7 separate regions of the Homo sapiens genome follow, and all the other regions are linked to region 2. The links are contacts of gene promoters, found by promoter capture Hi-C in blood cells and fetal thymus (Javierre and others, 2016). All regions are on one chromosome and are shown on one strand. The core of a region is centred on a gene start or on the middle of the fragment in contact, and the rest is flanking DNA. Distances in the headings are between cores, read along the strand shown. Region 1 overlaps RYR3 (ryanodine receptor 3). Region 2 holds the start of RYR3 (ryanodine receptor 3). Region 3 overlaps RYR3 (ryanodine receptor 3). Region 4 overlaps RYR3 (ryanodine receptor 3). Region 5 overlaps RYR3 (ryanodine receptor 3). Region 6 overlaps RYR3 (ryanodine receptor 3). Region 7 overlaps RYR3 (ryanodine receptor 3).

Evidence for each region. The method cuts DNA at HindIII sites, captures the fragments that hold promoters and counts their contacts. A CHiCAGO score of 5 or more calls a contact.
Region 1: a contact is called between a fragment that was not itself captured here and the fragment with the promoter of RYR3 in region 2, in 6 of 17 cell types (megakaryocytes, erythroblasts, M1 macrophages and 3 more). The highest score is 24.0, in megakaryocytes.
Region 3: a fragment that was not itself captured here is called in contact with the fragment with the promoter of RYR3 in region 2 in 4 of 17 cell types (megakaryocytes, endothelial precursors, erythroblasts and 1 more); the score reaches 6.7 in megakaryocytes.
Region 4: a contact is called between a fragment that was not itself captured here and the fragment with the promoter of RYR3 in region 2, in 4 of 17 cell types (megakaryocytes, erythroblasts, M1 macrophages and 1 more). The highest score is 15.4, in megakaryocytes.
Region 5: a fragment that was not itself captured here is called in contact with the fragment with the promoter of RYR3 in region 2 in 8 of 17 cell types (megakaryocytes, erythroblasts, M2 macrophages and 5 more); the score reaches 40.1 in megakaryocytes.
Region 6: a fragment that was not itself captured here is called in contact with the fragment with the promoter of RYR3 in region 2 in 6 of 17 cell types (megakaryocytes, erythroblasts, endothelial precursors and 3 more); the score reaches 18.2 in megakaryocytes.
Region 7: a fragment that was not itself captured here is called in contact with the fragment with the promoter of RYR3 in region 2 in 3 of 17 cell types (megakaryocytes, endothelial precursors and erythroblasts); the score reaches 10.7 in megakaryocytes.

The regions. Positions count from the first base shown.
Region 1 is chr15:33,714,683-33,717,524 of GRCh38, forward strand. The region is part of intron 43 of RYR3 (ryanodine receptor 3); the gene reads left to right. Among named protein-coding and RNA genes, the nearest start is that of CHRM5, 250 kb to the right of the region's middle. The HindIII fragment of the contact is 3,302 bases long and covers 1-2,842 here.
Region 2 is chr15:33,309,628-33,312,327 of GRCh38, forward strand. RYR3 (ryanodine receptor 3) reads left to right here and starts at 1,340. Exons shown (of 104, transcript NM_001036.6): 1 at 1,340-1,469. The coding sequence starts at 1,419. It overlaps RYR3-DT (RYR3 divergent transcript), which reads right to left and starts at 1,032. Exons shown (of 3, transcript NR_120327.1): 1 at 951-1,032. RefSeq lists enhancers at 1,561-2,072, 2,073-2,582. The HindIII fragment of the contact is 6,631 bases long and covers 1-2,700 here.
Region 3 is chr15:33,769,798-33,772,658 of GRCh38, forward strand. It overlaps RYR3 (ryanodine receptor 3), which reads left to right. Exons shown (of 104, transcript NM_001036.6): 63 at 2,123-2,361. Among named protein-coding and RNA genes, the nearest start is that of CHRM5, 200 kb to the right of the region's middle. The HindIII fragment of the contact is 216 bases long and covers 1,143-1,358 here.
Region 4 is chr15:33,629,616-33,632,315 of GRCh38, forward strand. It overlaps RYR3 (ryanodine receptor 3), which reads left to right. Exons shown (of 104, transcript NM_001036.6): 22 at 325-428; 23 at 1,595-1,678. Among named protein-coding and RNA genes, the nearest start is that of RYR3, 320 kb to the left of the region's middle. RefSeq lists a silencer at 2,282-2,501. The HindIII fragment of the contact is 3,990 bases long and covers 1-2,700 here.
Region 5 is chr15:33,690,829-33,693,528 of GRCh38, forward strand. All of the region lies in intron 38 of RYR3 (ryanodine receptor 3), which reads left to right. It also overlaps the pseudogene C1QBPP3. Among named protein-coding and RNA genes, the nearest start is that of CHRM5, 280 kb to the right of the region's middle. The HindIII fragment of the contact is 2,693 bases long and covers 1-2,640 here.
Region 6 is chr15:33,653,812-33,656,511 of GRCh38, forward strand. The region is part of intron 32 of RYR3 (ryanodine receptor 3); the gene reads left to right. Among named protein-coding and RNA genes, the nearest start is that of CHRM5, 310 kb to the right of the region's middle. The HindIII fragment of the contact is 5,067 bases long and covers 1-2,700 here.
Region 7 is chr15:33,745,394-33,748,093 of GRCh38, forward strand. RYR3 (ryanodine receptor 3) reads left to right here. Exons shown (of 104, transcript NM_001036.6): 53 at 675-764. Among named protein-coding and RNA genes, the nearest start is that of CHRM5, 220 kb to the right of the region's middle. The HindIII fragment of the contact is 981 bases long and covers 901-1,881 here.

The DNA.
Region 1 (2,842 bases), core at 201-2,700, 410 kb after region 2:
CTTAGTTTAAGGAACATAATATCTCCTAGCTTTGCTGAATCTGCTTTCCTAGGTAGATTTATTATCAGTGGCCATAACTTGGACATCCATCATGTGACATGTGAAGAGTCTATGAGGGGCTGTGAAACGTGATGCTCTAGAAGTCCTGCCCAGAAGTCACTTCCTACAACTCAAAGCAGGAAACAGAGAAAACCCAAGTAGAGTGATCAGAAACATGTATGGAATAATTACTAAAAACTTTGTAATCAACCACACCTACCTACATAGTGACACATGAGACATTGGCATGCCAAAATGATGGTGTTTATTGGAATCTGGTAGAATTAGTCAAGGGATGCATGAGGAAGAAGGCAAGTGTTGAATAACATCTTGAAATAAATGGATATAGTTTAACAAAGTCCTAAAGGGAGAGCATATGGATAGACTGTTGTGCTGGGAGACATACATCTTTTAGGGTTGAGAGTACAAAGTGTCATCTTAGCTTTGAAGGGCATACAAGGTGTAGACACTTAAGAATCATCTGGTTTATTTCTGCCCTTGTATTCATGTTTTTAGAGTCAGAAAGGGCATGTTAACCATTCTTCAGTGTGATTGGTACTAGACTAGGCATGGTTAGGACTAAATGTGTGACACATAGTTTTGTTCTCAAATTTATAAAACAGTTGAAAAGATTCAGCAAGCTCTTGAAAAATTAACCAATGGCAAAAGATTTAAATAACAGTTTAAGACAAATAGGAACAACATCGCAATGTTGTACTCAGGAGATACAATCATGCTAGAGTGATAAGAAGGTAGAATATAAGGTACATTTGAGATATGGCTAGTTGCAGCTGGATTCTTAACATCTATGTTACACCTTTGTACTAACTGTAAGGTATCTTAGTCCATTTATACTGCAGCAACAAAATACCTGAGACTGGATAATTTATAAAGACAGAAATTTATTTCTCACAGCTCTGAAGACTGGGAAGTTCAAGAACAAGGCACCAGTAAGATTGATGTCTGGGAGGGCTGCTGTCTGCTTCCAAGATAGTACCATGTTGCTGCATCCTCTGGAGAGGAGGAACACTGTGTCCTCACATGGCAGAATCAATTGAAGGGCAAGAGACCATCCCTTCAATTTTAAACCCTTTTATAAGGGTACTAATCCCACTCATGTGGGCAGAGATCCTTATAACTTAATCACCTCCCAAAGGCCACACTTCCTAATACTGTTTAATATGGTTTGGATGTTGTCTTCTCTGAATCTTATGTTGAATTCTCATCCCGAATGTTGGAGGTGGAGCCTGGTGGGACGTGTTTGGATCATGGGGGCAGATGCCTCTTGGCTTGGTGCTGTCCTCACACTAGTGAGTTCTCATAAGCTCTGGTTGCTTAAGTGTGTGGTACCTTCCTCCCACTCTTTCTCTCGTTCTCTGAGACACCTGCTCCCCCTTCATCTTCTGCTATGAGTAAAAGTTTCCCAAGGCCTCACCAGAAACCAAGCAGTTGCTGGCACCGTTTCCTGTATAGCCTGCAGAACCAATGAGCCAATTAAACCTCTTTTCTTTATAAATTACTCAGCCTCAGGTATTTTTTTATGGCAATGCAAGAATGGCCTAACACACTGTTGCATTAGGGATTAAGTTTCAACATAAATTTCGGAGGAGGCACCATGATTCAAACCATAGTATAAAGCGTGTACAGTCTTGCATACCCTACCTTCTTCGTTCTCCCACTGGACTCCCTGGAATCTTTATACCTGAGAAAAGGAAAGGAAATCTATCAGACAGGTAAAGGGCTTCTAGTGACAGAGGCAAGGAAATGTGCCTCCATCTGTAAAAATTCAAAGTGAAACAGCATCAAAGTCCAGAAATAAGCAGACAGTCAAAACAGTACCAGTAATAGAAAACAAATTCCTCAAATAAAGAAGCCAATGGCAAACCTAGGCCCAGAGCACCAAAATGAGGAAAGCTGGCTGGGGTGAAAGGATATCAGCTACATTCTTTTCACCCTAAGTGAATTTCTCAGCAGCTTGCCTCCAAGGCCCCTGTGGGATTCCAACGATAGTGATAACTGAGTGTCTTGGCAGTGGACTCAAAAGTCCAGAACCTACTTAATATACGTATGTGGATTTCATCAACCATTTCATTGATAAGAGTAGTAAGTGAAGCCTGATACTTCAATAAAACTAGAATTAAGCTGAATGAAACAAAAAAAAAATCCACTTCATCAACATTATTCACACAAAATGGCAGTATTATGATCCTTGTGCCCATCAAAGGCTGATTTTCATCATCTTATTGAGAATGCCCATATTTTGTCAGAGCACACCTTCTGACTTCAGGTTTCTATGGCATTCAAGTTTTATTTGGCATATTTCATGAAAAAGCTACATAGACCCAAACTCTAGACACATGGGCAAAATCTTAGCACAATTCTGCGATTAAATACTGGCCTTCAAAATATCTGGGCTACTACTGCACCATCCACCCTGCATGGTTTCATGGCTTTGAATTCCACGTATACACTGATGATCCCCAGATGTACTTTGCCAGCTTTGTCCTCTTCCCTGAGCCCCAGACTTGTATATCTTGGTTATCTACCTGGTATTTCTACTTGAAGGTTTAATACGCATCTTAAATTTTGTACATCTTAAAGCTGAGTATGTAATTACCACCCAAAACCCGTTCTTCCCCGAGGATTCTCCATCTCCTTAACTAGCTCCACCAACTTTTCAGATACTCAGACTAAGTCTAGACAGCATCCTTGAATCAACTTTTTTCCTTATTCCCACATCCAGTCCATCACCAAGTTCTGTTGATTCAGCATCTAAAAGATATCTGAAATCTATCTTCTCTCC
Region 2 (2,700 bases), core at 90-2,589:
CTTAAGGTAGCATCAAGAGATAGATGTCGTCCACAAGGAGGCGGTATATGAAGCTGTGAAATGGCTTGGGGTTTCCAGTGTCTTCCACCATCATCAGCCCAGAATTACCACCTTCCCAGTTGCACTTCCTCCTAAATCTACATCTCTGGTGCCTTTTGCCTTGAACAGTCTCTTGCCTTGGAGCTTCTCGGCCATCAAACAGAAGGGGGCACCCTGCACCGTCAGTCAAGGCAAGGACCAATCTGGCAATCCCCAACCATGGAAAAGGACCTAAGGCTGGGTGGGATGTAGGAGCCTTCCAGGACCTGGAAGGGAGCCTCCTGTAACTACTCTCTACTCCCTTTAGAGTCCACAGGGCTGGAACTCTAAATGCAGAATAAGGTTAGGGGTGGGCAGAGAGGAAGGGTTGTGATGCCACCTGACTTCCAAATTGAGGGTGGCACAGGATCCCCCAGAAGCTCCCTGGGGTACAGAAGTCACAGCAACCCTGGACAATCCAGGGGTTTGGTAAAGTGTACTTACCAATTTTGAAGAGGGGAAGGGGTTCTCTTAAGGTGTAGAAAGGACTATCCAGGGAGTTGCAAACTTTGTTGTAAGTGGACAATCACCCTCGCTCCTCACTGCACCGTCTTCTCCTTGCCCAACAATGCACGCGGGTCCTAGCAAGGTATTCGAGTCCAGATCTCTCTCTCTCTCTCTCTCTCTCTCTCTGTCTCTGTCTCTCTCTCTTTCCTCTCTCTGTCTCTCTGTCTCTGTCTCTCTCTTTCCTCTCTCTCTCTCTCTGTCTCTGTCTCTCTCTTTCCTCTCTCTCTCTCTCTATCTCTGTCACACACACACACACACACACACACACACACACACACACACAGGCAAAGTGGGCAAAGCGGGCAAAGCGAGCAAAGCGAGAGGGTTGGTACCCAGTCTGGGCGCGCTGGAGCTAAGCAACTGGCCTTTGTTTGTGAATTGGAGCAGTTTAGGGGACATCCTCCGGTCGCCGCGGGGCGCGCGCCTCCGCTGAGTGTGCGGTGCGGTACCCAGCGGTGCGGGGGAGGCTCCACCGCGCCAGCCCAGGGCCCCCGCACCGCCCCCGCCAGCTCGACGCGCCCAGCGTTGCGCTCTCCACGGAGCGGGCGGCCGCAGCGCACTTGGCTGGGGCGAGAGGCGAGAGGGGTGGGCGGACTGCTTGGTTGGCGTTGGCGCTCTGCAGTGCAGTGGAGTGTTAGCCCAGCTCCCTATATGGTCGGGGATTAGCTTGGCGCTGCTGAGGCTGAGGCTGAGCCAGGAGCTGGAGGAGGAGGTGGAGGACGAGGACGAAAAGGAGGAGGAGAAAGAGCGCAGCAGCAGTCAGCGCACGCCGAGCGGCTGCCGGGGGAAGCAGAGGCGCCGGAGGCTGGGGCACCGCCGACGCCTCGGGAGCCATGGCCGAAGGGGGAGAAGGAGGCGAGGACGAGATCCAGTTTCTGAGGACTGTGAGTCTCCGCGGCGGGGGCGAGGCCGTGGGCAGGTGGGGAGGAGCGCGGAGCGCGGCGAGGAGGGGCTGGCTGCGCTGCGCCGCGGTGCCGGGTGCCCGGTGCCGGGCGCTTTCTCCGCACCCGCGGGCTGCAGAGGCGGACCGGCCACCTACCCGCGGGGCCGCGAGGGGCTGCGTGGGAAGGGGCACCATCTCCTGCCTCTCCCTTGTTCCCCTACCGCCACCCCTGCCCCAGGCCCTCCACCTAGGACCGCTCGCTCTCCAGGCAACTTGCTACTTGGTCTGAAACCCTTGATGCCCAAACTTCAGCCGGGGTTTGTTCGCGGTTGTCCTGACCCATAAGATCGGCGTTGGAAGCCCTCGCCCCGGGGTCGGCCCTCTGACACCTCCATACTCCACCCCAGCCCCATTCCTCTTCCAGGGCGCCCCCACGCACAGGGGAACCTCCGGGAAGGAGCCAGCGGGGCAGGGGGGAGTGTGGGGAGCCGGGTCGGAGAAGCGGGCGCAGGCGCTTGGTCCTAGCCCTGGGATCGCTCGGAGGGGAATTCACCCAGCGCTGCCCCTCTCGTGTTAAGCCCCACGCCGGCAACTGCTGCTGGAGCCTGACTTGACTGACTGCCTGTCGTGTGTTCGAGAGCTGTGGCTTCTGCTCCTGGCTCCCGCGAGCCCCGCAGGACAGGGAAACCCCAGTCAGTGGCTCCGCGTCACTCAGGTCCCCTCCTTGACACCTGAGGGCGCTGCTCCGTCCCAGATTTGGGGGTGAGGGGGCGAAGTCTGTTGCAGCCACACCAGCCTTGCCCTGTAGGAGATAATACAAAGACTTTCAGGGTGGACGGCCACCCGGAGGGGTGGGGGCATTGGGGATGCATCCTAGCGCTGACTTCAGCCAAGTGACCTTGAGCAAGTCGCATAATCCGCCCTACTCAGCCTCAGTTTCCTCATGTGTAAAATAAAATGTAACCAGCGTTTCAGGGTGATAAGGATTAAACGTTATCGTGAATGTCATAATGTTTTGTAAACGGCAAATCGCTCTGTAAATCTTAGGTAATTTTATATGCGCTGCCTTGCTCTCAGGAATTAGAATGAAATTCTTTCTTTCCCTCTCTCACTTCCCTTTAAGGGTGCCCCCTTCTCCATGACCTGGTCTTCGAAGATCACAACTTACCTCTTGTCCATCTTTTGAACCACTCTCCTCCTGTTGAAGCGCTTCCTTCCAATTTACTTCAGTT
Region 3 (2,861 bases), core at 1-2,500, 460 kb after region 2:
AACTAGCCAGGCATGGTGGTGCATGCCTGTAGTCCCAACTACTCGGGTGGCTGAGGTGGGAGGATGGCTTGAGCCCAGGAGGTGGAGGTTGCAGTGAGCTGAGATCACGCCACTACACTCCAGCCTGGATGACAGAGCCAGACCCTGTCTTAAAAAATATATATAAATAAGAGAGAAGCAGTGGAAAGAACTGACAGGGACCTTTCTTTAACATGCCCATTAAGAAGGGTCCTTGTCAGAGCCGGGCACCATGATTTCTGCCTATAGTCGAAGCTACTCAGGAGTTCAAGACCAGCCTGAATAATGTAGAGAGACCTCATCTTTAAAAAAAAAAAAAGAAAGAAACGTCTTTATCAAAATTGGGAGGAGGACACACCTCCTAAGACCCAATGCAAAAGAGGTTACCAACCTAAAAGAGTGGGACACTAAAAGAGCGTCCCAAAGATGAAAATCCACAATGAACTGAGAATGGCTATAAAAAAGGAGGAGAATAAGGACTATTAAAGGGATGAGAAATCTTTACTCCAAGAAACTTGGGAAAAGTCTTGAGAGAGTCCAGTTTTTTGTTTGTTTGTTTTATTTTGTTTTGTTTTGTTTTAAATGAAGGTCAGTTGCAGGTTGGTGTGTTTAGTAATTATTCCTGACAAAACCTGGGACTAGAAAGTTAGGAAGGGCCAGATGCAGTGGCTCACGCCTGTAATCCCAGCACTTTGGGAGGCAGAGGTGGGTGGATTGCTTGAGGCCAGGAGTTCAAGACCAGTCTGGGCAACATAGACCCCCATCTCTACAAAAAATTTTAAAAATTATCCAGACATGATGGCACATGCCTGTGATCCCAGCTACTCGGGAGGCTGAGGTGAGAGGATTGCTGAGCATGGGAGGCTCTCATGAGAGGTCACTGCACTCCAGCCTATGCAACGGAGTGAGACCCCATCTCAAAAAAAAAAAGTTAGAAAGATAGCCCATGAATACTTATAGGATAAGAACAAGCCTAACTGACTTTATTTCTTTGTTTGTATTGTCTTGATGAGTTGAATGATTATCAGGAAAATGATGTAGATAAAAAGCATCTGTCCTTGAACCAAGTCTTTCATAATCTTCTGAATAAGATATAGAAATACAAAACTTATAGATGACTTGTAAGCTTTGTTCCAATTCTAAGTTTTATGAAATACTGTAGTTTTGAGGGAAGGCTTCAAATCTCCATAGCTGATCTTCATCCCTGTAGATCACATTTCAATGTTTTGTTTTGTGTTTTCCAGAGGTCTGATTAAGCTGTCTACTTTAAAACGGCTAGTTGTCTCTTTTCTCTTTCCTCATCCAACCTAGGACGTTTCCCGCAAACTAACAGAAATCTAAGCTTCTGTTGACTTATTTCCTTGCTCTTTTCCTCTAAGAGGTCTTACATCGGAAGAGTTTATGTTTCTAGCTAACCTTTATAAAAGTTGTTTATCTAGGCTGAGCACGGTGGCTCACGCCTGTAATCCCAGCACTTTGGGAGGCCAAGGCGGGCGGATCACCAGGTCAAGAATTGGAGACCATCCTGGCCAACATGGTGAAACCCCGTCTCTACTAAAAATACAAAAATTAGCTGGGCGTGGTGGCGGGTGCCTGTAATCCCAGCTACTCGGGAGGCTGAGGCAGGAGAATTGCTGTAACCTGGGAGGCAGAGGTTGCAGTGAGCCGAGATCACACCATTGCAGTCCAGCCTGGTGACAGGGTGAGACGCTGTCTCAAAAAAAAAAAAGTTGTTTATCCCACAACTTTTCTTAAAGCTCATTTCCCTGTTCTTTTAACTAGATCTTTACAGAAGACTTTAGCCAGTTGCAACTTACTGTAGATAATAGTGGGTGACCAATATTGGCTTCATTCTAAATTGTTCTCTGCATTTCCTGAAGAGGTGAGCAATGTTTTCCTCAGACTGTCCAGTGGCTAGCCCCTCTGGGATTGTGTGATTCAGGTTTCTTCCTGGATGTTAACTGCTCTCTCCCTTTCTCCTGACACAGTGTCATTGAGTGACAGGAGTGGCAAATGTCTGCCCAGATGACACTGCCAGTTTCAAGAAGGGGATTGGCCAAAAGTTCAGATTATGCTTCTAGATTTGAACATTGTTTGCTTGCAGGACTGTCATGAAGTCAGGCTCAGAGCTGGTGAAGGCTGGGTTACGAGCATTCTTTGAAAATGCTGCAGAAGATTTGGAGAAGACTTCAGAAAACCTGAAACTTGGGAAGTTCACCCATTCCCGAACGCAGATTAAAGGCGTTTCTCAGAATATTAACTACACTACAGTGGCTCTGCTCCCCATCCTGACGTCCATCTTTGAGCACGTCACTCAGCATCAGTTTGGAATGGATCTACTCTGTGAGTTCTACTGGTATTTGTCGTGGATGTATGTGCACATGGCCCCAGATAGGAGGTGCAGGGCCCATTCACTTACATTGACCTTGAGGGCAGAGCAGAGAGAGAATTATTCCATGCCTTTTCTTTCTTAGATTAAAAAAGAAGAAGAAGAAGAAGAAGAAGTAATATACTCTTGGAATGGAAAGAAATTCCCTAATTTGAGTATATAATATTTATCTTTTTCCACTTTTGTTCTGGACCAGAATTTCCCATCTGCCTGTCTAGCTCTCAGCTATTGTACTCTCGCTTAATTTCAAAGGTTATCTGAGTAATACAGTGGGAGATACAGATTTGCTCCTGGGTTTTTGAGACATCATTTTTCTTATTAAGAAGACTTAATTTATTCATTGGATACCAGGAGCAAAGGAAAAATGCTAACATTTCCTTATCTGAGCTTTCGGAAGACCAAAGTTGGTTGGTTTTATTTTAGTTTGCATTAACACCATATTTAGTGCCACCAC
Region 4 (2,700 bases), core at 175-2,674, 320 kb after region 2:
TCTTCAGAAACGTTATGGTTACATGAATTTTGGAGGAACAAGAGCATGGCTGCCACATGTAGCACTGCTTCTTTCGGAAAGTATGTTCAAAATGCAGATGCCTGTCTAGAAATAAATCCACGGAGCACAAACCACTGGCAACTTGGAGACTGTGTGTCTCATTGACTAGAGAGATCATCTGTTTGCCGAATAGCAAGTTGCTGTCTTTCTCTTGCCTGATATGGATTGCCTGGGCCATGTTTCAAAGTATGTTCTGTTCTGTTTTCCCATGCAGTGCCAGCTGGTCAAAACTTAAATCACATTCTTTCTTATGTCACCACCTAGATACGAGATGACAATAAAAGACAACACCCTTGCCTTGTGGAGTTTTCAAAGCTCCCAGAAACTGAGAAGAACTATAACCTGCAAATGTCAACTGAAACCTTAAAGTGAGTATTTAATTGAGCTGAAGTTTTACAAACAATGAATAGATGATTTAATGCATTATAACTAAACTGCAAAGATATGTCTCTTGCCTGAAAACGTGGCACATTCTGATAAATTAGAGGAGATGATGATGAATCATGTCACAAGAGGATTTAGCATAACCATCCACCATTATTATTGACTATATTTCTTAAACCATTTGCTATTTGCTAGGGGCAGGGAAAAAGTAAGAGGCAGAAAAGAAACTTAGAATCAAAGGACCAAGTACCTCCTGCAGTTCACATTAAATAAAGGAAAAAAAATGAAGCATTTCTAAAACCCGTTGGGAAACCTGATCTGATACACTAAAATTCAATTTTAAAATAATTTTCGCTTCTCCGTGATGCTACCCATGGGCCTAATTTAGACTTTAACTTCTCTAGCCTAAATTGTTATCTCCCATTTTGAATTCTTTGGGGGCTTGTTACCTGTTCTCTTGTCTTTGTATTTCCCTGTTCTCTAGTTGTCACTGCAGAACATTTTAACTTTGTGGTTTTGTTGGCATAACGATGCTCCGTAAGGTCCCTTGTCCCACAGGCTTACATGGGATACCTTCAATTACACTGGCACCTCTTGAGGGTATGGCTTTGTACTTCATGGTTTTAAGCACAGCTCATGCCCTTACAGGCATCATGCAGTAAATATTTGCTGACCTGTGGGCTGGATATTAGAATTCTATCTGTTCCATGGAATTCGAAGAGGCATATAATTGTAATGCAAATTTATAAAATAGAAAAATGTCTCCAAGAGGGGCAATTAACAAATTTCTCTTCTGTAATCTTATGCTTGCTATCATCTAAATCGGGAGTTGACAAATTATGGCCCATGGGACAATCAGACCAGCTACCTATTTTTGTAAATAGATTGTTATTGTAACAGAGTCAAGCTCATTGGTTTTCATATTGCCTATGGCTGGCTTTGCTCTGTAATCACAGAGTTGTAGCTGTGACAGAGACATATGGCTCACAAAGCCTAAGGCATTTACTCTGTGGCCCCTTACAGAAAAAGTCTACTGACCCCTGGGCTAAATGAATGGCTCTTGTCTGTTTTCAACTCGGATGTGAATTAGGGTTCCTGCTGTTCCTAACACTGCAGTTAACCTTAGTCTTCTCCTTCTGTTGTGTCACAGAACCCTCTTGGCCCTGGGGTGCCACATTGCTCATGTTAACCCAGCTGCTGAGGAGGATCTCAAGAAGGTCAAACTGCCCAAAAAGTAGGTGATTTTTTTTTTAATGGTTCAAGACTTTAATGCTTCAGCCTGGATTTTTAATCCAGGAGGGTGGTACCAAGACAGACAACAGCCCACATAGTTGCTAGCACCAGCTCAGAAGGGCTCCCCTGTTTCCTAGATGACACTGAAGCCCTCAGATAGAAGCCTGGTGAAGAAGTATTTCAGGGTTTTCCCTCTCTTTGCCCCTTCCACCTGGACCTCACACTAATATTGTTAGTTTTGAGCCAGGAGGTCAGATGGATGCACTGTCTTTGATCTATAAGAATAGCATTCAGCACAAAAGCTGAAAAGTGGTTCCCAGCCATGACAGAGAGTCACTCCTCTGGCATTGGACCAGCCTTGTAAGTCCTTTGTGGAAGGGGTATCTCTGCCACCATTCGTTTGACCTCCTATATCTGCCTGTGTCCTGCTCTGCCTCTCTCCCACTACATTCAGACACAGTTGCACATTTCTTGTCCTTGCACATTCAAATGCTTGCTCAGCGGCACATCCACTGGCCCCCTTGCTTGTTTGCTCTCATGCATGCCAGCAGATATGCAGATGGATTCACACACAGGTGTCATCATTACTTAGGAGCCAAGCAGTGCCAGCTTTAATCAAACGTTTATCTTCCCCCTTCTTTCCTCTTAAACTTCCAAGATCCACTCTCACACACGCAACTCCTAGTACCAAGAAAAGCACATCTGACAGGCTGCAGTGGAGGAACAGGCTGCTGGCCAGAGCTGCTGAGGTCAGGACACAACAGTCAGTGCATCCTGACTCTGCCCAAGGGCAGCATCCTGAAAAGGTGGATGCAGAACTTTATCTTATACCTACCTACAATAGACCCTGCATCTCATGTTGCTCAGAGGTCCTGGATGGATTGAGCCCTGGTCTGTGGTTCATCACTGTTGGATTCTGGCCCTGGCCTAGGCAGTCAATGGCCCTAGGGCCATAGATACCTTTAAACTCATATTCCCACATGGCCATGACAATCTGCTTTCCTAAGGTTTCACTCCGCAGTG
Region 5 (2,700 bases), core at 44-2,543, 380 kb after region 2:
AATTGACAAATATTTAAATATTTATTAATTTAAAAATAAAAACCTTATTACATGTTACATAAAGATACTTTTATGAAAACTAAATTTTTCAAAACAAAGTGATATTTCTTTGCATGATTATAAATCTCTTTAATGTCTGACTTAATTGAAGGCAGCTGGATTCTTATATCTGGTTAAAGAATAGGAAGAAAAATGGCCTTAAATACATAATTGGAAGGGTAGTAGTATTTTTCATAGCCTTTTCCAATAATTATGGATATTCTTCTGTAAAACTATATCTGAACAAGTAGTAGTTTCTGAAAAGTTAGTTGGCATGTGGAATCTGAAACCATATTAACTAGATGTCTGTACTTTGTTATGTAACAATTCATTGGTCTATCTTGCACATTGAATGGATCTTTTACCTAAGAATGTTTTTGTAATGTCATTCATTGATCATTGAGAGATTATTGGTTCGTTGAGTTAATAAGAACTTCAAAATCTTGACACATTTCATTATAAAATAGTTTAAAAATCACATTTGTTAGTATAGACAGGTTAATCAGAAAAGTCTTTAAGTACTGGGAAGCTGTCGAGCTCCCAGTGGCAGCTAAACATTTTTCAAAATTCTGATTTTCACTTGAAAGGTCAAATTTCATTATTGGCAACAAATACTATCACTTGAAGTGAAAGGCTTACTTTTTTCATTTTTTTCATTTCATTTTTTTCATTTGTTCAAGTTAACCATAGTTTCTTATTCTTTAATTAAAAATGGCATTCATGAAATAAGCAGCTAGTTCAGCTCACAACTCCATCACACAAGTACTTTTCCTCCAGAAAAAAACACTGAACTTTAATACATAGCAGAAGTGCTTTACTTCTTTTCTTTCTCTGTACCATTCTATCACAGAGGATATTTTAAAGATGTAAACTCGAGAGTTTATGATTAATAAAATTAATAATTTTTACTGCTTTATTCAGGACATCCTTCTGTGAAACGCATTTATCTGGAAGTGTGGCAATAAAAAATATAGTTGGGTGCTGCTAACTCGATTCAAGCTAAGGCACAAGCAGTTTTACTCAGCATTGCTTTTGCACCATCAGTGCAATTATCAACACGATGAAAAAGGCCAACAATATCTTAGAATTTTTATGAAAACACATTTGGACTTAAAGGGTATCTAAAGGGTCTTGGGCCCCCAGGGCTCTGCAGATCACATTTTTATGACTCTTGGTAGAGATGTCAGTAATAGTTCACCTTTATTAAACCTGCAGTATGTGCCATCCATGGTTATATGCATTAATTACTTTAATCATCAGATATACAGGTATATGGAGAGCCTAACACAATCTAGAAAATGTATTCTTTTTAACTTCTGGACTCTGGTATGTTTTGGCTGCTCTGCTGCTGATGCACGGGAGCTAATTAAAATCTGAAGAATTTTTAGTAGCATTGCTTGCTAGGGGTATAAAGCTCCATTTTCTCCATCCCAAAAGTGTTTAGACCTTGAGAAGTTCATTGGTTGTGCCTGGGTTTGCTTGGTGGGTCCTGGGTCTCTAGTATATGTCAGATGACAAAATATGTTGTGCTTTTCATGGCTCCTGAAAATGTCCCCTTCTGCCCCTCTCCCCCTGAATTTTATTTCTTTTCATAGTTATTGTTTCTCTCACTTACTGCACCTTGGTCTCACAATTTGAAACATTTTCCAGTACATATGGCTTTAAATGTCAGGCCTTCCATGGAATTACATCTGCCTGTCAGCAACACAGCGGTAAGTCTTGCCTCCTTTTCTGGCAGGACCTGGGGACTACTTTTTTTTTTTTTTTTTAACTGTACTTCAGCTTGGTCACACATAAATATTTATCCCGTTCTCTGACACTTACTTTGAAGGCTTGCCTGGACAAAGAATGGAGTGGCAGGTGTTTGCTGCTTCATGCTTTGAGGCTAAAAGGGTGTTTTCTTTCCCATTTTGCCCTCTAGTGAGGTGTTTTGCTTTACATGCTCTCTAGGCCATAAATATTTGTTTGGATTTTTGAGTCAGTGTGAGGCTAAGAGCTTACCCAAATCCTGAATTAATCTGAAAGCCAGGTTAAAGGAAACTCATATGTACTTGGTTTTATTATGATTCTGTAAAATTCTCTGTTGAAGAGAAGATGGTCCTTGAGCAGGTTAGCAATTCCACCAGATCTGATTATTGCTTTTCCAGTGTGGCAGGGACTGGGATAGCATGTATTATATCTGCAGAGAATTGTTTTGTTAGTCGTGAGAACTATAATTCTTTCAAGCCAAGGTATAGGTTTTAGAGGAAATTGTACTGACGGGACTAGAAAAACTTAAATTGGGTCCAAGAGTCTTTGTTTTTGTCTTGCTTTCCTTCTTACTACGTAAGTAATAACTAGGAGTGCATCCATACGTATTGGTGGTCGCCTCTGTGATGCTGCATGCCTGGTGCCCCGGGCTCTGCAGTTGCTGCCCTCCATGCTACCATGCCTGCGCCACCACTCCAGCAGCGCCCAGGTCCTGTGCCCGGCCCTTTGCGCTGCTCAGTGTGCATGTGTATGGGGTCTGCATGGCAGCCTGGCCTCCTGGGGCCTCCTAGGCCCTCCTACGCCCTGTGCCTGGGGCTACAGCGGCTGTGCACTGCACACCAAAGGAGACAAAGCTTCTGTTGAATTCCTGAGTGATGAAATTAAGGAGGAAAGGGAAATCGAGAAGCATAA
Region 6 (2,700 bases), core at 79-2,578, 340 kb after region 2:
ATCCTTGATGGCCAGGTAAGGTTGGGAAACTGCCACATATCACATCCACCTCTTGAAGTTTTATAATGAAGGTTATTAGCACACTGAAATATTTGAGAAATACTTCAGAAAGAAACCTATGTAACCAAGCAGTTCTCAAATTATTTGACAAAGAAAAGCACTTTTTTTAATTTTAAGAATCAATAATGTTCTATGAACCTAGAGTTCCACAGAGCAAACTATGGGAGATGGGAGGTTAATGTCTACGTTAAACATTCTCGACTCTCCAAGGTAGAATGGAGAGTCACAAGTATTTGTAGACAGAGAACGCTGTACGAGTTCAAAAAAGGAAGAGCTCACTCCATCACAAGCAGTCAGGAGAATGTTCATTAAGGAGAAATCTTGATTTATTTATTTTTTTAAGGAAAAAGCGTTTTTACGGGCCAGGCATGGAGGCTCACACCTGTAGTTCCAGTATCTTGGGGAGGCCGAGGCAGACAGATCATTTGAGCTCAGGAGTTCGAGACCAGCCTGGGCAACATGGTGGACCCTCAGCTTTACAAAAAATAGAAAAATTAGCTGGGTGTGGTGGCATACACTTGTGGTCCCAGCTGCTCAGGAGGCTAAGAGACTCACTTGAGTCCGGGGAGGTCAAGGCTGCAGTGAGCCATGATTGTTCCACTGTACCCTACTCTGAGTGACTGAGTAAGACCCTGTCTTAAAAAAAAAAAAAGAATGAATTTTCATGGGTAGAAGGAGAAGAGTGTTGAATACATAGCTCAAGAAGTATCATGGAGATAGGGAAGCAGAAAGTGTGTTTGGGGATCTGTGGACAACATCGCATAGGGCTCTTATGGTTATTGGTAAGAAATTTGTTTGGAAAGCTAGGGAGATATAGATAGGAAATGGGGAGCCATTGAAGGTTTCTGAGCAGGAGAGTGGCATGCCGTACTTAGGGCATCCAACAGTTTTTCAGGGTCACCAGTTTACCTAACTATAGCAAATTAAAAACATCCTGCTATGATGTACATGGATAAAACCCCTGATTCTTAAATCAGCCTCAGGTTACAGCCTTCAGGCTGAAAAGCCTCTTGGCAGCCAGTTCTCTGGCCTGTGGTTGGAGAGAGGGGGTAAGGTAGACAGCAGACAGAGTAGCCACCTCCCATCTGAAATGTTCATTGACTAAGAACAGATGGACCAAACCCTTCCTGGGGGCGGGGAGCAGCCTGTTGGCACAGAGGCCGCCACCTTGTCTCTCCAGCACCTCCTGCAGTGCATGACCCTCTCTGCACCTCCTCCTCTTCCTGGGAGAAAGTGGAATCATCACCACTTGGCACGCTTGCTTCAGCAGCTGGGGCCCAACCAGCTATTTCCAGAAAGATGCACTCACAAAGCCAGGCTTTGAGGCAGAAAGTAAAGTATTATTCTTCTAGTACTTTTTCATGATTCTATCTCCTCCACCCCCAAATCCCCTGAGAAATGTTTTATATACATTACTGCTGTCCTTCAAAATCCATTAGCTTTTTCCCATTAACTTTAGAAATGAGTTTAACTGAAGGGTCCTCCCTGAGCTGCAGAGGACGCTAAAGCATCTCATAACTTTTAAGACTAGCTGATCTTTGGAAGTTCAAAAAAAATAATTAATTTTTTAAAATGGCATTTGCAGCAGCAGTGACTTGCCTGCTTCAGGAAAGAACCTGTGATGTTGAAGAGGAGGACACTGTGACAGCTTTAGCCCACCTTTCACCATCCTTCTGGGTGACATAGGCTGGTCAGTTGTCTTCTTTTGGCTGGGTGCTGGTACCCTACCTCCTGGAGAGCCTTCCTCCACCCTGTGCATAGAAATCCTGATGACCCTGCTCAGCGATCCCAGTCCTGACTCTTGCCCTTAAGAATGCTGCCGCAAAGGAGACAGTATCAGGACTCTGTCCAGAAACCTGAGAGGTTCACACCCAGCCAGCCCCCTTCTCATTCCAGGCGAGACAGTAACGTGTCCTGCCATGCATTTGGTCCCTGACAGTGGGATCGTTGTTATTCCACAGCTGTAGCCATTTTCATTTTTCAATTATGTCAAGAAGAACAGTCCAGCAATATTTATACACTGGCTTTCAGATTCAGAAAGGACTAGAAACCAAAATAATGAGAGAAGGAGTCTCTCAAACAATGTTTCTAGACCTCCCCATTAAATAGTGATAAACAATTTGAACACATTTTTCTGTCCACTTAATATAATCAGTGGCGAATTTGAGAAATAAAATCTACATTCAAGAGATACTCCTCAGTGATTGCCACTCCAGGCACACCAGTCTGAGACACAGGCAGCTATGAGGTTTGGATTTACAAGAGGGGTTAGCTTTCAATTCAGGCCCATTCCTGTGCCATGACCTTCACACATGATTAGAAAAAGAATGTCCATTATTGCAAGGACAAAACAGATCAGCCAGTGATGAAAGGTGCCTCAAATACAAAAGGGAAACTGTCAGTGGCATACCACGGCAGTGCTAAATCTGGGCTGGTTGCGCAATCCATGGGCATGTAAGTTCCTCATTTAGAAGGTAAGCTCCTTGAGGGCAGAGGCCCTCTCCTGTGCTCACTGCCGCCTCCCCATGCATGAAACAGTACCTGGCATCTAGTGAATGCTCACCGAGTATGTGTTGCCAGACTGACCCACGGCTGGGAAATCCCCTTGTAGGCATTTTTTTTTTATTGTTGCCTGACAAG
Region 7 (2,700 bases), core at 141-2,640, 440 kb after region 2:
GAGAAGGGACAGAAACTTAGGAAATATACACATTTAACAAATGGACAGGAGCAGAGATTGAGAAAGAGCAGCCAGGAGTCTTGGGGATGTGAAGTTACAGAAATCAGGGGCTCTTACTTATCTCTGTATCCACTGTGCCTCGGACAGAGTCTGGTGTGTACCATAGAAGACATTCACCCAATATTTGTTGAATAACCCTAAAAGTTCTTAAACTTCTGTGACTCTAGGAAGCACACATCACTACACTTTTGCTCTGGCACTGGCAGGCAAGGGTTGCAAGGCAAATGGCCCCTCTAGGCAGTGGCAATAGGTCCAGTCTTCCCAGGCCTTCCAGTCCTAGCCTCTGTTCTTCCTGCGAGGGGAGTACTCTAACCTGAGAAGCACCATTCCCAGGGCCTTTTGAAACATGCTGTTTTAAGAGGGCCTGAAATACAAGTGAGAAAGTGGAGAGGACAGCAACTGAAACAAGAAGGAATAAAAGAGCAGAGTTCAAGATTCAGGAGGCGGAGAGCCTGATGGCCTGAAAAGATCAATTAGGCATTTTTGAGGAGAATTTCTAAGCCCTGTCACTATCCATTACTCCACTTGCTCCATGAAAATAGAAGCAGGGATTTGGGTCACATAGCGGGGTTCTTTGCGTGCCAAGGATATTTGAACTGAGAACATTTCTACAGAGTCAGAGTGGATGGAAATATGGGATTTCCCTGGATGAAAATGTGAAGACCCACCCACTGATAAGGCCTTTCAAGACATTAACGGAGAAGGTAAGAAGCAGGCCTCTGGTAACACTGTGTGACCATGCTGTTTCCTTCCTTGAGTGATTTTATCAGAGGAGTTCAGAGCACATTCACTCTCACGTCCCTACAACATCATCATCTAGGACTCAGTAAACTGTTCACAAGCTTGCCAGTGGGCAAGTGCCTCAGGACCAGTTTCCGAGAGCCCAGCCTCACTTTCTGTTCTTTGGCTTTGAGAGGCCATTGGTGAAAGAAGCATTGTTCAGCACTTTGAGGCTGGGCCAAAATGCATTTGTAGTTCTGCAACTGAACTGAACCAGGAAGGGGTTTGGTTAGGGCGGGGCAGGGAGAAGGCACGGTGAAATTGCTGGAGAAAATTCAGACAAGGCCGGGTGTGGTGGCTCATGCCTGTAATCCTAGCACTTTGGGAGACCAAGGTGGGAGGATTGCTTGAGGTCAGGGCTTCAAGACCAGCCTGGCCAACATGGTGAAACCCCATCTCTACTGAAAATACAAAGATTAGCCAGGCAGGAGAATTGCTTGAAACCGGGAGGCAGAGGTTGCAGTGAGCCAAGATCACGCCACTGCACTCCAGCCTGGTGACAGAGCGAGACTCCATCTCAAAGAAAAGAAAAAGAAAAAATTCAGACAAAAATAATTTCTTTCTTTCTTCTTTTTTTTTTTTTTTTCTCTTTTGAGGCAGGGTCTCGTTCTGTCACTCAGTCTAGAGTGTAGTGGTGTGATCTCGGCTCACTGCAACCTCCACCTTCCGGGCTCAAGTGATCCTCCCACCTCAGCCTCCCAAGTAGCTGGAACTATAGGCATGCACCACCATGCCCAGCTAATGTTTGTAATTTTTTAGCAGAGACGGGGTTTCGCCATGTTGGCCAGGCTGGTCTTGAACCCCTGACCTCAAGCAATCCTCCCACCTCGGCCTCCCAAAGCACTGGAATTACAGGTGTGAACTACCATGCCCAGCCAAAAATGATTTCTAATACATGGAAGATACAGGTAATAGAGAAGAGAATCCTCAAGAAAATATGGTTAAGAGAATGCATCTCTTGCTTAAAAAAATTAATTAATTAACGTATTTGGTTTAACTCAACTCTGAATTCTTATCTTGCAATCTGTAAGATTCTTAGTAAGCTTTAGGCCTAGGCCTAGTGTCACATGTAAAGGCTGGTGTATGTATCTTTGCATTCATGTTGACTACCTATTAAATTGTACATAGACCAAAAGAGAAATCTTTTTTTTTTTTTTTTTGAGACGGAGTTTCACTGTTGTCACCCTTTTTTTTTTTTTTTTTTTTTTGAGACAGAGTTTCACTGTTGTCACCCAGGCTAGAGTGCTGTGGTGCAATCTTGGCTCAGTGCAAGCTTCATCTCCTGGCTTCAAGCAATTCTTTTGCCTTAGCCTCCCGAGTAGCTGGGACTACAGGCATGCACCACTACGCACAGCTAATTTTTGAGTTTTTAGTGGAGATGGGGTTTCACCATGTTGTCCAGCCTGGTGTCGAATTTCTGACCTCAGGTGATCCACCCGCCTCGGCCTCCCAAAGTGCTGGGATTACAGGCATGAGCCACCGTGCCCAGCCCACAAGAATTCTAAATCTAAGAAATTATCTTTCCCAAACTCACAGGAGAGCTTTATGCAGATGCATTTTGACAATCTTCAACAACTACTAGAACATGAGGAGCCACTCTCCCATTCCTGTTCTTCGTCTACAGAATGTAGATAATGTCATTAATAATGTCTGGCACATTTCCTCCCAGGGCAGGAAAGACCGTAGGGTCTTATATCTAAAAACACCAGAAAGACTGTGTTTCGGGTAAGATGCCACAAAGGATGTTTTGACCTTGTGAGAGAAGGCTGGTGCTAACTAGCACCCCCACCCACAGTGGGATGCACCTTCCATGCGGAGATGGGCCAGGGAGAATGCTGGGGTGTGTTCTGCAAAGTGCTT